Regions from separate parts of the Homo sapiens genome. Here region 2 is linked to region 1. The links are contacts of gene promoters, found by promoter capture Hi-C in blood cells and fetal thymus (Javierre and others, 2016). All regions are on one chromosome and are shown on one strand. Each heading gives the region's core, a stretch centred on a gene start or on the middle of the fragment in contact. The rest is flanking DNA. Distances are from core to core; before and after follow the strand shown.

Region 1 (7,734 bases), core at 2,215-4,714:
GCAGATCACTTGAGGCCAGGAGTTTGAGATCAGCCTGGGCAACACAGTGAAACCCCACCTCTACTAAAAATACAAAAACTAGCTGGGCGTGATGGTGCATGCCTGTAGTCCCAGCTACTGGAGAGGCTGAGGCTGGAGAATCGCTTGAGCCTGGGAGACAGAGGTTGCAGTGAGCCAAGATCGTGCCACTGCACTCCAGCCTGGGCAACAGAATGAGAGTCCTTCTCCTCCTTCTTCTGCCTAACATCCTTTGGTTTGCACTTTATATTTCATGCTGTAGGCTGTCTTTTGCCCTTTCCCTTAAATTCTTTGTTACCATATTCTGCATGTGCCAAATGCAAAAGAGAGAGAGACAGTGCCCTCCTACCCACCTTGCAAGGGGAGCCCAGACTGCTGGAAGGTCCTAGTGGCACCCACAGGTCCCTTCCCTGCAGAGAGTACTCAAGCATAAAAGAAGATGGAACTGAGCTGACGTTCATGTGGCCCAGCAAGCTGCAGGAAGGCGAGTCCATGGCATAATTACCTGCACGTCTTCAATCATGATGGAATAGGCAATTCCCTGGGACTCCAAGAACACTTTGACTGCCTGGACGTTGACGAAGGGAACTCGGACGTGGGCTGTCTCCCCTGGGGTGGTGGGTGATTTCCAAAAATCAAGCTGAAAGGGATAAAAGTCCAAGCCAAGGAAATGAATGGGCTGTTCTGGGGAATGGACAGTTCAGCACTGATAGATTTCTAGGAATCAATTTGCATCCACTTTATCTTGAGCCCACAAGTTTTGGAATCATTGTGGAATCACTATGATATTGCAACAAGGGCTTTTAAATATCCATGTGTCAGCAAATCCATTATATTGTTTCCCCTGCCCCTATGGCTAGATATTAAAACTGGCAGAAGGAAAAGATTATTAAAACGATGGCAGTTTTTTTAAGCTGGGATTCTAGCAATCCAATTCATTTAATAATGGGATATAAATGCTATAAATTATTTTATAAGGGAAATATGCACTAAAGGTGTTTAATTTTTGAAAGTAACTTTCACATTTGATATCTCTTCTCATTCTTACAATAAACCTGAGAGATAGAAGAACGGCATATTTATCGCCATTACTCTGAGTGAGAAAATGAGACACAGGGAAGGTAGGTGGCTTGCCCAATGTCCTGTAGTTGGGACTAGAGCCCAGGTTTTCAGAACCCCAGCTGCATGAGTTAGCATTTCACACTATGTCATGGGAGTCAGAATACAGTCGAAAATAGAGCTCAATCATGTTTAACTGTATTCATTCTGGGAACAGCAACTCCCACTAGATCAAATACCTGGAGATGTTCTTGAGCCTCCAATTGTAGCAGATTTTTAATTTGTTCTTCATTGCTTGGTACAATCTCAAGAACTTGGTCTCTAAAGAAAATTAACCACAAATATGACCTTAAAAGCAAAACCTGGACACTGTTTCCTGTTGCTTTCTGCACCTGTTAGTCTCTGCGTATAACAGATTAATGCAACAGTCAATAATCTCTGTGACAATCCAGAAACTAATAAATAGTATACTAAACCCACATCGCCAGAATGAGAAGGTGATAGAATGGCGTTATTTCCTCCCAGGAAATGTTATCTAAATAATAATGAATAGGTGTACCTGCTCCTAGCAGGAAGCCTGCCATTAAAGTTACCTTTCCCATAGCTAATGAGTCAAATAAAACCTGCTGCTTGTGGAGTGTTATAGCTTTTAATACTTGCCTGTTCCTGTTGTTCAGAAGTAAGTTTTTAAAAAGTGGAATAATTTGGTGCTTGTAAGAGGAAACAATTCATATGTGGGTAGTCCTAAGATTTTGTTTTTAATGGTTTTGGGGGTTTTGTTTGTTCTTTGATTTTGTCAACTGAAAATGTATCAAGGTTCCATCCCCAGACCCCATTCATGGGGCCCAAACATGGGGCATGGCCAGAGATAGTTGGGACCCTGACAAATTATGTGCCGTGCCTCTCTTTACAAACACACACACACACACACACACACACACACACACACACACCCCCTTAATAGGGAATGAAGGATGAACAGGAAAGAGAAATCTCAAAACAATCAAGCACATCTCTTTAGGAAGAGTTCCCTTGGTGACAGAGTTTCCCCTTCTAGCCTTTCTCCACGTAGGCAGACTTCCTAAGTCACTGCCCCAACTGTTTGTGCAGTGGGGAAGGAATCAATACAATGAGCCATGTACAGGGACCAGAATATGGGTCTTCTGAAACCAAGCTCCATGCAATTTCCTACGAACTCCAGTGGAATACAGAAGTGATGGAATGTGAGCTCTTCGAGGCTCACCTGCCACAAATGGTCTGAAAATTCTTCCATTTAAGTCTCATTATTTTCGGTTAATGCATGGACTCCCAGGAGTCCTCCTTTAAAATGGGAAGGCACTGAGAAAAGTAATACAACAGGGTCATATTTCCTGGTGTGTGTTCTAAAGAATAGTAGTTCTTTGAGTTACTCAGTGAAAGAAAGAAAGAAAGAAAGAAAGAAAGAAAGAAAGAAAGAAAGAAAGAAAGAAAGAAAGAGAAAGAAAGAAAGAAAGAGAAAGAGAAAGAAAGAAAGGGCAAGCTGGGAGCAGTAGGTAGTTTATGATTAAAAAAAAGAGTACATGCTGCAACCTAGATCCCCTCTTATAGATTTATAATGCACACTGATTTAGCCAAGGCTCCTAGAAATCCTATAGTTTGTTTAATCCTCTGATTCCCACATTTATTTGACCAGTGGCTTTTTGGGACCAAACTTATTTGATTGCTTTCTTAGCTCCCTGGACCACTCTTCAAAAAATGCTGCCTGAAACCCTTCATAGAATCATGAAGCAAAGTACTTTGGAGCAAAGATGAGTCCTCCAAAGCCAGGAGAGGAGGAGTTGAGCTGAAATCTATAGCCCTGGCCTTTCTACTTCATGAGGTTCCACCACCTAGGTGCTGAATCTAAAGATCGGGGGTTAGGGCACAAGGGCTAACGTGGATGGTAAAGCCCAGAAGAGCAGGAGGAGGTGGGAGAGTAGCATTGACACCCGCTGAGTTGCCTGGAACAAATGGCCACACAGCTGTATTTTCCCTGATGTCTATCATCCCTACAGTCTGATCACTGGAGGGAAAAATGAGTAAGGACAGAGAGAAATAGGGTTATGTGTGTTCAGTTTTCACTTTTGTCTTTTCCTTTAAATGTCATTCACCTCCTTTTTGATCATCCACTCCTTTTTTTCACACTATTGACTTATCCCCAAATCTAAGAGAACTTCTCTGAAAACACTGAACACTTATACCCATTTACTCTGTAACAATCAAAGCCTCCATCAATCAGGTAAGTAAAATTCAAAGAAGCACCAGAAAGCATAACTTACCCCACAAATGTTTCTAGACAGTAGATATGCCCAAAAAGGGCACCAAAAAACAGGATCAACCTCATGGCCATGGGTTTTCCTGGAGTCCAGAATTCAGAGTCCTTCCTGAACTTTATTTGTAGGGATGGCAGCTGAGGGTGATCTGCTGGCCTTCTGAGAACTCACGTGAATTCCCACATGGGAAAATTCCCACCTGCATGTGAAATTCTCAAGGTTGTAGACATCCACCTGTGTGATATCACCAATGTGTACATGTTCCATTCCTAGGATAAGATAACAAACTTTGATGGAAAGAGAACAAAATTGCTAGAGCATACCAAGGGCAATATAGTTATGATTGAGACCATAAAACGCCACTAGCTACCCTGTGATAGAAGCCAGATTAATAGACCTAGAGGTTAAAGTCTTTTCTGGGTCTCTGACACACACACAAAAAAAAGGCCAGAGCATTTATAGTAATTACTCAGGCATCCTGTCTATCACATTCCATTAGTTTGCTCATTTGTTTATTTTTATAATGTTTACCTTGAAACACTGCAGTCACTCAGTCCACATCTGCTGAGTGTCCCTGTAGATGTGGCCCATTCCAATCCTCACTCTACATTAAAACAAAACAGAAGGCCTTTTAATATTCAATTTTGCACTTTCTCGAAAGTGATCCATCTGCATTTGCACCAAATTGATATCCCTCTTTCTGTGCTTTTTCCCAAAATGAAAATGTCTTTCTGATGACATTTCCTATAACAAGCAACAATGAAGTTGCTTGTTATAAAAAGTGTGAATTAAAAGAAAGTGTTTTCTTTAACCATCAATAATTCTTCCATCCAAAGAAAACCATTTGGCATATGTCTTTCCAAATTTCTTTCTCTGCTTTCGAGTTTTTTTCTTAAACAAAGATTAGACCATATCACGTATACTGTTCTTTAAACAAAGGTGATCTTTTCTTGTTCATAAACATAGATCTACATTAATCTGACTTTGTTCTTCATTGCTTAAGAAGAAAATATAACTGCTTATTTTTAGAAACCATAGTTTATTTAATTTTAGTTGTTCATACACGTTATATTAAGCCTAGAAAGCCTCAACCACAACAAGCAGCAAGGAAATTTTCGTCTGTCCTTTGTGTGTCAAATTTATCAGCACACACTTTAAATCTCTGGGTTTGCATTCTCAAATATCTGCTTTAAGGGGAAAGGTATATACACAGTGTTTCTGATTTTAAGAATGACTGGATTAACTTGGTTTTTCATTCTCCTGGGAGTCAGAGAGAAGACAGAAACCAAAAGGCAGAGGCCATAATTCATCCTCATGTCTCCAGCACCTATCAAATAAACAGTAGTTCAATAAACTGGAAGTATGTACTTGGAGAATCAATAAAAGCTTCCTGGAAAAAATCAAGTTTCAGGCTGGGCTCAGTGGCTCACGCCTGTAATCCCAGCACTTTGGGAGGCCAAGGCAGGTGGATCACGAGGTCAGGAGATCGAGACCATCCTGGCTAGCATGGTGAAACTCCGTCTCTACTAAAAATACAAAAAGTTAGCCGGGTGTGGTGGCGGGAGCCTGTAGTCCCAGCTACTCAGGAGGCTGAGGCAGGAGAATGGTGTGAACCCGGGAGGCAGAGCTTGCAGTGAGCCCAGATGGCACCACTGCGCTCCAGCCTAGGCAACAGAGTGAGACTCCGTCTCAAAAAAAAAAAAAAAAAAATGGAGTTTGAGCTGAGCCTTTGTGCCAAGGCAAATGTGAAAAGAGCCTGGATTTCTGGTGGTAAGAAAATATAAGCTAGACAGGGAACCAGGGGAGAGCACATGATACACAGCTGGGTTAAGGAGGAAACTTAGCCTAGCAGAGCAGAGACTTGAACCTGGGAGTGGTGGGGAAGGTAAAATACCAGAAGGTGGGCTAGAGGGCAAAGGATCTCACAATCCAAACAGAGGAGTACACACCAGATGATATGGAGAGCCTTGGAAGGTTTCTAAGCAGGTAACTGATTGATGAGGGCAATGCTGAAAATGGTGAACCTTGCAGGATGGTGCCTGGCAGAGATCCTCTAAGCAGGGAGCCAAATATGAGCCTCTTGGGGAAACCGAGATTTAGGATGCTACATCTGGACTTGTGGATGGCAGAGGAAATGTCTGAGATGGCCTTGAAGAGAGATTTCAGTGGAAGAAACACAAGCCTGTGGTGAGTAATTGGTGCATGACTGGATATAGAAGGAGAAGGTGGGGAAAGGAAGTTCCAGCCCGTGTTAAAGGAGGGATAGGTAGCCACCTCCATGGTTGCCCCCACAACATCTCCCCATCCATTGTGACACTGGGTGAAGTTCCACTGTAAGAATTTGTTTTGATTATCTCCCCTACTGTTAAGCTTTCAAAAAGGAATTTCTGCTGAGAAGTGCTACTCAATGATTGAATCCACTCTCAGTGCTAGGAACATGATAGCTCTCTTTCCTTGCTGGGAAGAACAATGGAAGGGGGTGTTGAGCCTAGAGCTATAATGGGGGTCCAAAAGATGCCTCGCCCCCACCTCACTCCTGAGTCCAAAGGACTCAAAGATGATGCCTGAGTGAGAAAAATAAACATTCCCTGGATGGATGTGCCAAATAAAAATTATAGAAGGCCATTATTTTGGACTAAGCTTCCATACCAGACCCCAGCAGACCAGACTAAAAATCAAAGCAGAGCCACCCATGCTAAGGACCCAAGATAGGTTGTTAACTGACCTGAGAAATCAGGAGAAAGAGATAACAGGCAATTTCCCAAACAGGCCAGTTTAAATCTTCAATAGGCACGATAATGAATCTCTTTTGCTTTAATCCTTACACAAAAAATGTGGCCTGAAGTCACCTGATGTTAACCAACCACTTATTTTTCTATTGTGGTGTCTCACTGTCCCCACCTTAAAAGAAAAGTAGCTTTGGAAAGACTAACAGTCTTTGTTTTTTGCTTCTGCGTTATCCAGCCCGTCTTTGTCTGTAAGGCCAAGCCCTTCTGCTTAGCTCATGAGAATACTCACTGTGTTTTATGGGATGAAGTGTTACCCTATTCTAGAATCGCAAATAAAGCCAACTGAGATCTTTAAACTGAATTTGATGTAATTTTGTCTTTTGAAAGGTGAAAATTGTAATTTTATAAAATAAATAGAGGAAGTTAGAGAAGGAGAAAGCACAAGCCTTCGAAGGAGGTTGTAGGAAAAACTTAAGAAAGCTCTGTTTTCTGTTTCTGACAATATAAACTGATACATATCAGAATAGGGCATTGTCATTTCTACCTCCTCACCACCATACAAGCTGGGTGAAATCTATTTTTTTAAACAGTCATATTGAGGTATACATGACATATAATAAACGGCATATGTTTATTTTTAAATTTGTATCATTCTCTTAAGAAACTCAGTCTATAAACTACATATATTTAAGACATGCAATTTGACATGTTTTGACATAGGTATACATCCATGATGAAATCATCACCACAATCAATATCACATATCACAGATCTATCATCCCCAGTAAAATCTGTTTCTGAGAATCATTAAGAAAATCTCCAGCCAGAAAGAGATCATTGAAGCCTCCTTGCTTTGCAGAGGAGGAAATGAGGCCCCCAGAGGGGAAGCGACTTACACAAAGCCCCAGGGCTGATCTGGGCTAGAGCAGGCACCAGGAGCTCCAGCCTCAGACCCTGGTTCATTGCTTCATCCAATTAACCAAGGTAATTCTACTCAGCTCTAGGAAAAGACCATTTTAGGCCAAATGCTTCTTCATCAACCTATCCCCCAGGAAGCCGTAATTCAGAAAGAGAAAGATGATAGCTCTCTTTAGAAAAGTGCTTTAATAGCATATTACTCCCTATGAAGATGATGTTAGGCACAATTCGACTTTCTCGCCATTTAACCCCAGAAGGTGAGATAGCCTAACGGTAGGGTGAGTAGGCCACTATATGGGACCATAAGAGAAAGAACCACAGATTGAAGCCTTCAGTAGAGATACCAGATTCTAAAGCACTTCAAACTCAAAACTCTGAATGCCTTTGCCTGTAGAAACGGGGTTATTTGTAGTGCTTTTTGTCCCCCTGCCTCGGGTTTATTTGTACAAATAGCACTGGAGGACATCAGCCCCGTGCAGAGGGCAGCCCAGGGGTCACACTAGTCCTTCTGTTCTCACATTGGCAGACAGAGGTCTCTACTCTGGAGCCTTTGTGAGAGCCTGGGCACCTTTTGGAGCCTAAGCTGGAACTGAAGCTGGAGCTGCAGCCTGAGCCTTGCTTCAATACTTGGCTTTGGCCTTTGGCTGGCAGAGTCTGAGACCCTTGGCAATGCAGGCACAAGCACAATTCCCAAGCTTGTGTTGCAGAATTTTTGCTCC
Region 2 (7,734 bases), core at 3,322-5,821, 520 kb before region 1:
GAAATTTCTGAAAGAAAGCCTATGAATACGTTTCAACTTTTACACCAGAAAGCATTCTCTTATGACAGCTTCAAGATGTACTCGGAAATTGCTTTTACTGAAACTCATTACTCTTTTAAGACTGTATAGCAGTTATTATTTTCTGACATTTCCTTGTTTATTGCTTGTTTCTTTGTGCATTGCAGGTTCCATAAAAGCTGACTTTGTGCCTGGAACATTGGAAGTGACCCGTCAGTGCTTACTGAATGAATAGGCAAATGAACAAAACCTCCTGCAATACAGCTTTCTTACCATGCCTCAAGAGACTCTTCAGTCCATCCTACTGTAGTTGCTTTTGATTGGGTTCTCCCTGAGTACTGACCCTAGGCCCAGATTCAGAGATTTCTCCAAAAAAAGAGCTTCTTTCAAAGACATCATTCCTATTGTCAACCCTGTTGGCATAGACACAAAATGTAAACGTTGGACAAAGGCAATACTTGCTGTGACAAAGGCGATATTTGTTGTAACAAAACACAAATGTCTGTCCATCAGTGGGGAACGAGAATGCTGGGATTTGAAGAGGCCAAAAAAATAATACTGCTCTCTCTTTTGAGAAAGAGAGGGGATTTTTTTTTTTTTTTTGAAAAGCCATAAGCTTAGGACAGATGAAATTCAAAATCCACACTAAACTTCACTGGAGAATGTAAGCAAAATATGAGGCCACAGGTGAGCTTTCTATTTCCTTCCTCCACTCTCCAAGATGGCCCATTGATATTTGGCTGTGTCCCCAAATCTCATCTTGAATTGTAGTTCCTGTAATCCCCATGTGTCATGGGAGGGATCCAGTGGGAGGTAATTGAATCATGGGAGCAGTTACTCCCTTGCTGTTCTGTGATAGTGAATGAGATCTCATGAGATCTGATGGTTTTATAAGGGCCTTTTTCCCCTTTGCTTGGCACTTCTCCGTCCTGCCATCATGTGAAGAGGGATGTGTTTGCTTCCCCTTCTGCCATGATTGTAAGTTTCCTGAGGCCTCCCCAACCATGTGGAACTGTGAGTCAATTAAACCTCTTTCTTTCATAAGTTACCCAGTCTCAGGCAGTTCTTTATAGCAGCGTGAGAACAGACTAATACGCCCACCCAGGATTCAGTCTCCCACCTGCAGAAGCAGAGGTCCCCCAGTCACTGTACTCCTGGCATCTTTGACGGCCAGCCACTGGGACTAAAAGCTCAAAGAGGGCAGGGCCGCTTATGCCTAGTTTCTTCTCCTAGTTTCAACAGTAAGATAAATCATTCCCACCTAGGGGAGAGAATGAAGTCTGGAATCACTAATAGTGTTATACCCTGGGAATGTAAGTTCCCTCATGCAACATGAGGGGGAGGAATAAGATTTCCACCAGATAAATAAATAAATAGTCTGTGGTGCACCCAATGTTATGTTATATATCTATTTACAAGAATACAGTCAGATAAGATCTACATATACCAACACAAGAAATGTTTCAAAGGATTTTAAAAGTGGTAGAAAAATTGCAACATTATTTGTGACTTTTTTTTTTTTTTGACATGGTCTTGCTCTGTCACCCAGGCTGGAGTACAGTAGCATGATCATGGCTCACTGTAGCCTTGACCTCCTAGGCCCAAGGTGTCCCCCTGCCTCAGCCTCCTAAGTAGCTAGGACCACAGGCACATACCATTAAACTCAGCTAAGTTTAAATTTTTTGTAGACATGGGGTTTCACCCTGTTGTGCAGGCTGGTCTAGAACTCCTGGACTCAAGAGACTCCCTGCCGTGGCCTCTCAAAGCACTGGGATTACAGGCATGATCATGGCCCTGCTTATGCAGGTGCAAGACCTCTGCTTACGCAGGTAGGAGCCCTCCATGTCCCCAGCCTGACCTTCTTCTTGTAAAAGTAAATGAATAATTCTAATATATGTTAGCATATGTATAAATATGAAAAAGGAAGACTATGCATTGAACTTAATGATGGTTATCTTTAGCAGGTAGGATCACAGCAAATGTTTATTATAGTTTTGATGATGTCTGAATTTTGTATTAATGGAAAACCATTTCTTCTATAATAAGGAAAAATAATAAAGAGTAGAAAAAAGGGAATTAAATTAGAAAGCAGATGACATTTCTTTTCCTCCTAAGATTGTGCTGAAGAACAAGAGGAAGAGAGAAACCAAATGGGTGTCTGTAGGATTGGAGTAAGCAAATGGCCTTGTCCCCAGGTGCCACCACATATGGTGGGGATAGGAGAGTGCTGGCCACCTGTTGCCTCTCATGGCCTCTCTGTAGTTTTCTCCTTGAAGCCTCAGGAGCCTTCCATTCCCAGTCTCCATCCCTCCTAGTGTATTGTCACAGGAAACCACAGTCTTGGGTCTGGACTTTACAGCCAGCCTATGAGGGCACCGAAGAAAGAGCATGGGCTCTGACAGTAGATGGGCCTAGGCTCAAATGCTAATCCTGCCATGTCCTCAATGTTTGAATCTGGGCAAATCACTTGACTGCTGAGAGTTGGTTTTCACATCTCCAAAATGGATTAAATAATTCTCTCATAACAGGTGGTGGATGTAAAGCCCTTAGCTAGCCTCCCTTCCCCTGATTTATGATTTCCAAACTCTCTGCTTGAGACAGGGTGTCATGGGACACAAGAGGGATACAGCATAAGGAACTGTGTGACATTTAACTTCCTAGAATCACATACACTGGGGACTGGTCACTAGAGAAGAGAAACCAGACCCCAAAGACGCAGAGATCTTGGTGTGGGAGCAGAGATCTGTGTCCAGAAACTGCAGGAAAACCACAAAACTAGGAAGCACGTTCATTTCTCCACCCTCTCATCAAGACAATCAGCCTGCTGCTTCGGGCTCTTCTAAGAGTTTGTTTTTGCTCTGCTGAATGTCTCCTTTTTTGCACTTTGTAATACGCTTTAACATCTTTCTTTATGTATCCGAAGAAATAATCAATCAGCTTTAACTTTCAAAATTCTTGATTTTTCACTGTGGTGGCAAAAAAAGGAAGCCTCTGTGACCCCACCAATAACTCATTTGGGATGTCTTTGAAATATTTAACTGTGTTCCTTTTAAAAAAAAAAATAGTAAAGAGCCAGGCATGGTGGCTCACACCTGTAATCTCAGCACTTTGGGAGGCCGAGGCAGGCAGATCATGAGATCAAGAGATCAAGACCATCCTGGCCAACATGGTGAAACCCCATCTCTACTAAAAATACAAAAATTAGCTGGGTGTGATGGTGCGCACCTGTAATCCCAGCTACTTGGGAGGCTGACGCAGGAGAATCGCTTGAACCCAGGAGGTGGAGGTTGTAGTGAGCCAAGGTTGTGCCACTGCACTCTGCCAGGCTACAAACCGAGACTCCATCTCAAAAAAGCAAAAAAGTAACCGTGGCAATACACCAGGGAAGAACTTCATAGGATACTGCGTTTTATTTCACATTCCCCAACTCAAGCCTTGTCTCCCAGCATTCCTGAGACTAATGGAGGCATGGAAGAGGCACAGTCTGCACAAGCTCAGGCTAACAGCTCTCTTACTATAGATGGTTTTCCGACTAAACATTAAGATGACCCCAAGTAAGCATGGATTCTGTAAATGTGTCACTGAAAAGCTGAATCCTGCTATCAAAGACAAGAAAAGAGCTTCAAGAACAGAAGCTGGAAACAGTCCAGCCACACAAAAGCTGGAAAGATTCAGAAACAAGGCAAGAGTGAGGAGCAAATGATCAGGCTCTGAGAGGGACTAAGCCAAGGTGATTCTGGCATAAGAAGAGGTGACTATAACAGAGGTTTCAGAATACAGCCTCACATATATAAGCAATTGTTTTACAATTAAGAGGCTTCTGTGGTTTAGTGTTAAAAGGATGATCTTTTCAATAAACAGTGCTGGAACCATTGAATACTTATATTTTAAAAATAAGTCTCAATCCATACCTTATATCACATACAAACATCAATCTTAAATAGGTTATAGGCCTAAACTTGTAAGCTAAAACCATTCTTTCAACAATAGAAGAAAACATGAAAGAAAAATCTTTGCAACTTCGAGTTAGGTGAATAGTTTTTAGAGAGGACACCAGTCAGTATCTTTAACCTTAAAAACTTATTAAATTGGCTGGGTGCGGTGGCTCACGCCTATAATCCCAGCACTTTGGGAGGCCGAGGTGGGTGGATCACCTGAGATCAGGAGTTTGAGACCAGCCTGACCAACATGGAGAAACCTCGGCTCTACTAAAAATATAAAATTAGCCAGGCATAGTGGCGCATGCCTGTAATCCCAGCTACTTGGGAGGCTGAGGCAGGAGAATCGCTTGAACCCGGAAGGCAGCAGTTGCAGTGAGCCAAGATCGTGCCATTGCACTCCAGCCTGGGCAACAAGAGTGAAACTCTGTCTCAAAAAAAAAAAAAAAAAAACTTATTACATTGAGCATCAGAAGTAAAACCTTTTTTCCTCCAGAATATACAAGAGGCAACATCGCCAAGATAACAGAGTAGGAAATACCAGCCCTTATCTACCACACACAAAAAAACAAATATAAACAGCTATGCACAAAACAAAATAGTCCAGAGGGAGCTCAATGGTTCATTAAAGAATCTGCAGGAATACAGCAGAGCATAAAAATCCAGGGAATATTCACATAAAAAATATCGCTGGTGAGACTGGCATAGCTAAGATGCCAGGAGATGACTAGTAGCTAAAAAGAAGAAAGTCAAAGACTATCGGTATCAGTTACATGATGTGAACCACCAGCATTCCCAGGGGCCTGCTCCACAAAGGACACTGGCATCTCTTGCTACTGAGCTAACCAACAGCCCTTCTCACCAGAGAACCCCAGAGACAGAGAGATGCCTGAACACCCCGTCCCCATCCATGAATTTGATAGACTGTTGAGCCAATTCAAGAAAGGAGCCACTACCTCTCCCAAGCCCACGTGTTCTTTGATCCTGGAGCTACACTGCACTGCGAGTGCCCGCACTCCGATGATGGCATCTTAGTCCATTTGTGTTGCTCTAAAGGAATACCTGAGTCTGGTAATTTATAAGGAAAAGAGGTTTATTTGGCTTATAGTCCTGCAGGCTGTACAAGAAGCATGGTGCTGGTCTGCTCAGCTTCCTATGAGGGTCTCATGCTGCTTCCACTCATGATGGAAGGTGAAAGGCAACTAGCATGCAGAGATCATATGGTGACAGCAGAAACAAGGGAGAGAGAGAAGGTGCCAGGCTCTTTTGGACAACAAGCTCTTGGGGAAACTAATAGGGAACTCATTCACTACCACAAGGATAGCACCAAGCCATTCATAAGGGATCCTCATGACCCAAACACCTCCCAATAGGCCCCACTTCCAACATTAGGGATCAAATTTCAACATGAGGTTTGGAGGATCAAATATTCAAACTATAGCACCTGGACTCTGTGGCTGTACTGGGCCTGACACTGGAGTCATCACCAAAGTGAGCTAGTTCACACGCCAGGCCTAGGAGCCAAACCTTCACTGTCTATGCTTGCTCTCTGGGCACCAGCTCAGCTACCATAGAGAGCTAGGCCCCACCTGGACCCCAGAGCCACTCTAACTCTGCACACACCTGTGTTCCCATTCTCAGCTCCCCAGCTAATCCACAAACATCTGCAACTTGCATATCTTCACCAACTCAGCAACAGGGGTGCCTTCACCCTGGGCACCAGTGGCATTACCACCCTGGATCCCACAACTGCAGTCCCTCTACACATGCCTGTGCCTCAGGCCTCAGCACTGTGGTTGCTCCACAGGTGCCATGCATCAGACACCAGTGCCACCGCCACCAGGAGTGGGCCTACAAGCCAGACCCAGTGCCAAGAGGGATCCCCTCAGCACCAACATCTCCAGAGAGGAAAAAAGAGATCAGGAGGACTTAGCAGCCATTGCCACTGAAGATCCTAACAATCCTTACTGCCACTATAGACATCCACAATATTGGCCACTGAGGATCTCTGCAATCTTTGTTAACACTGACCTCGGCTTACAGTGCCACACACAGACTACACAGCTGCACTGTCACTGGTATCAGAATCCCTGAACACCACCAAGCAAGCACTTTCATACTCCCCTACAGGGGAAGGTCTTTCCACAGCAAAACTAGCCTGTAAAGTCTGGAAGAGGTGACTGCTCCATCAAATGCACAGATATGTACAAAGACAACAAGAAACATGAAAAACAATGGAGACATAATACCACCAAAAGAAGACAATGATTTCCTAGTAACCAACCCCAAAGAAATGTAGATATACAAACTGCCTGACAAAGAATTCAGAATAATAGTTTCAAGGAAGCTCAGTAAATTTCAAGAAAATACAGAGAAACAATTCAATGAAATAAAAAAATAATCAACTACCAAGTGAAAAATTTAACAGTGAGATTGAAATTATTTTTTAAAAATCAAGCAGAAATTCTGTAGTCCCAGCTACTCAGGAGGCTGAGGCAGGAAGATCACTTGAACCCAGGACATCAAGGCAGTGAGCCATGGTCATGCCACTGCACTCCAGCCTGGGTGACAGAGCAAGACTCTGCATCAAAAAATGTATCTCTTGAGACAAATGGAAATGGAAACGCAACATACCAAAACTCACGGGATGCAGTAAAAGCAGTTCTATCAGAGAAGTTTATGGCAATAAATAGCTACGTCGAATATGAAGAAACATCCCCCCAAAAACAATCTAATTCTACATCTCAAGGAGCAAAAGAAGGACAAATGAAGCCCAAAGTTAGTAGAAGAAAGGAAATAATAAAGATTAGAACAGAAATAAATGAAATAGAAACAAGAAAAACTGTAGAAAAGAGCAATAAAACTAGGAGCTGTTTTTTTTGAAAAGATAAGCAAAATTGACGAGCCTGTAGCCAAACTAAGAAAAACTTTTGTTCTCCAAAGACACCAAGAAGAAAATAAAAAGACGAGCCCTAGACTGGAAGAAAATATTTATTATAAATATATCTGGAAAAGGTCTTATACCTAGAATACATAAAGAATTATAAATCAAAAATTAAAAAAATAAACAACTCAATTTTTTTAATGGGCAAGACTTGAGACACTTCAAAAAAGAAGATATACAAATGGCCAATATGCACAGAAAAAGATGCTTAATATTGTCAGTCATCGTGTAAAATACACATTAAAATCACAATGAAATACCATGACATACTCAGCAGCATTAGTAAAAGTTTAAAAGATCGACAATAACAATTGCTGGCAAAAATGTTGGGCAATGCGAATTCTCACACACTGTTGGTGGGAATGTACAATGATTCAACCACTCTGGAAAAGAGTTTGGCGGTTTATTATAAAGTTAAACATACCCTTACCCATGGACTTGCAATTCCACTCCTAGGTATTTATTTACCCAAAAGAATGGAAAAACATGTGCCTACACAATGACTTGTATATGACTGCTTATTAGTGGCTTTATTCCTCATAGCTCAGAACTGAAACAACCCAAAGGTCCATCAACAGGTGGATAAATGGATAAACACATGGTGGTATATTCATGAACCAGGGAATATACGCATCATCATTAAAAATGAATGAACTGCTGATGAAGCAGCAGCGTTGATGACCTCACAGATATTAAGTTGAGCAAAAGAAGCCCAACAGAAAAGAACACACACTGTATAATTTCATTTTTATGATGCTCTAGAGTAGACAAAATGAATCTATGGTGAAAAAAATAAGAAAAAAAATGGTGGCCTCAGATGGGGATAAGATAGGA

Evidence for each region. Contacts are between HindIII fragments. The CHiCAGO score rates a contact against its expected background, and 5 or more counts as called.
Region 2: a contact is called between a fragment that was not itself captured here and the fragment with the promoter of CPA2 in region 1, in 2 of 17 cell types (M1 macrophages and M0 macrophages). The highest score is 7.8, in M1 macrophages.

The regions. Positions count from the first base shown.
Region 1 is chr7:130,262,593-130,270,326 of GRCh38, reverse strand. It overlaps CPA2 (carboxypeptidase A2), which reads right to left and starts at 3,464. Exons shown (of 11, transcript NM_001869.3): 1 at 3,375-3,464; 2 at 1,317-1,398; 3 at 524-658. The coding sequence starts at 3,445. The HindIII fragment of the contact is 5,023 bases long and covers 1-4,756 here.
Region 2 is chr7:130,784,596-130,792,329 of GRCh38, reverse strand. The region is part of intron 3 of LOC105375508 (a long non-coding RNA gene); the gene reads right to left. LOC105375509 (a long non-coding RNA gene) reads left to right here. Exons shown (of 3, transcript XR_007060528.1): 3 at 186-1,411. Among named protein-coding and RNA genes, the nearest start is that of KLF14, 54 kb to the right of the region's middle. The HindIII fragment of the contact is 7,869 bases long and covers 637-7,734 here.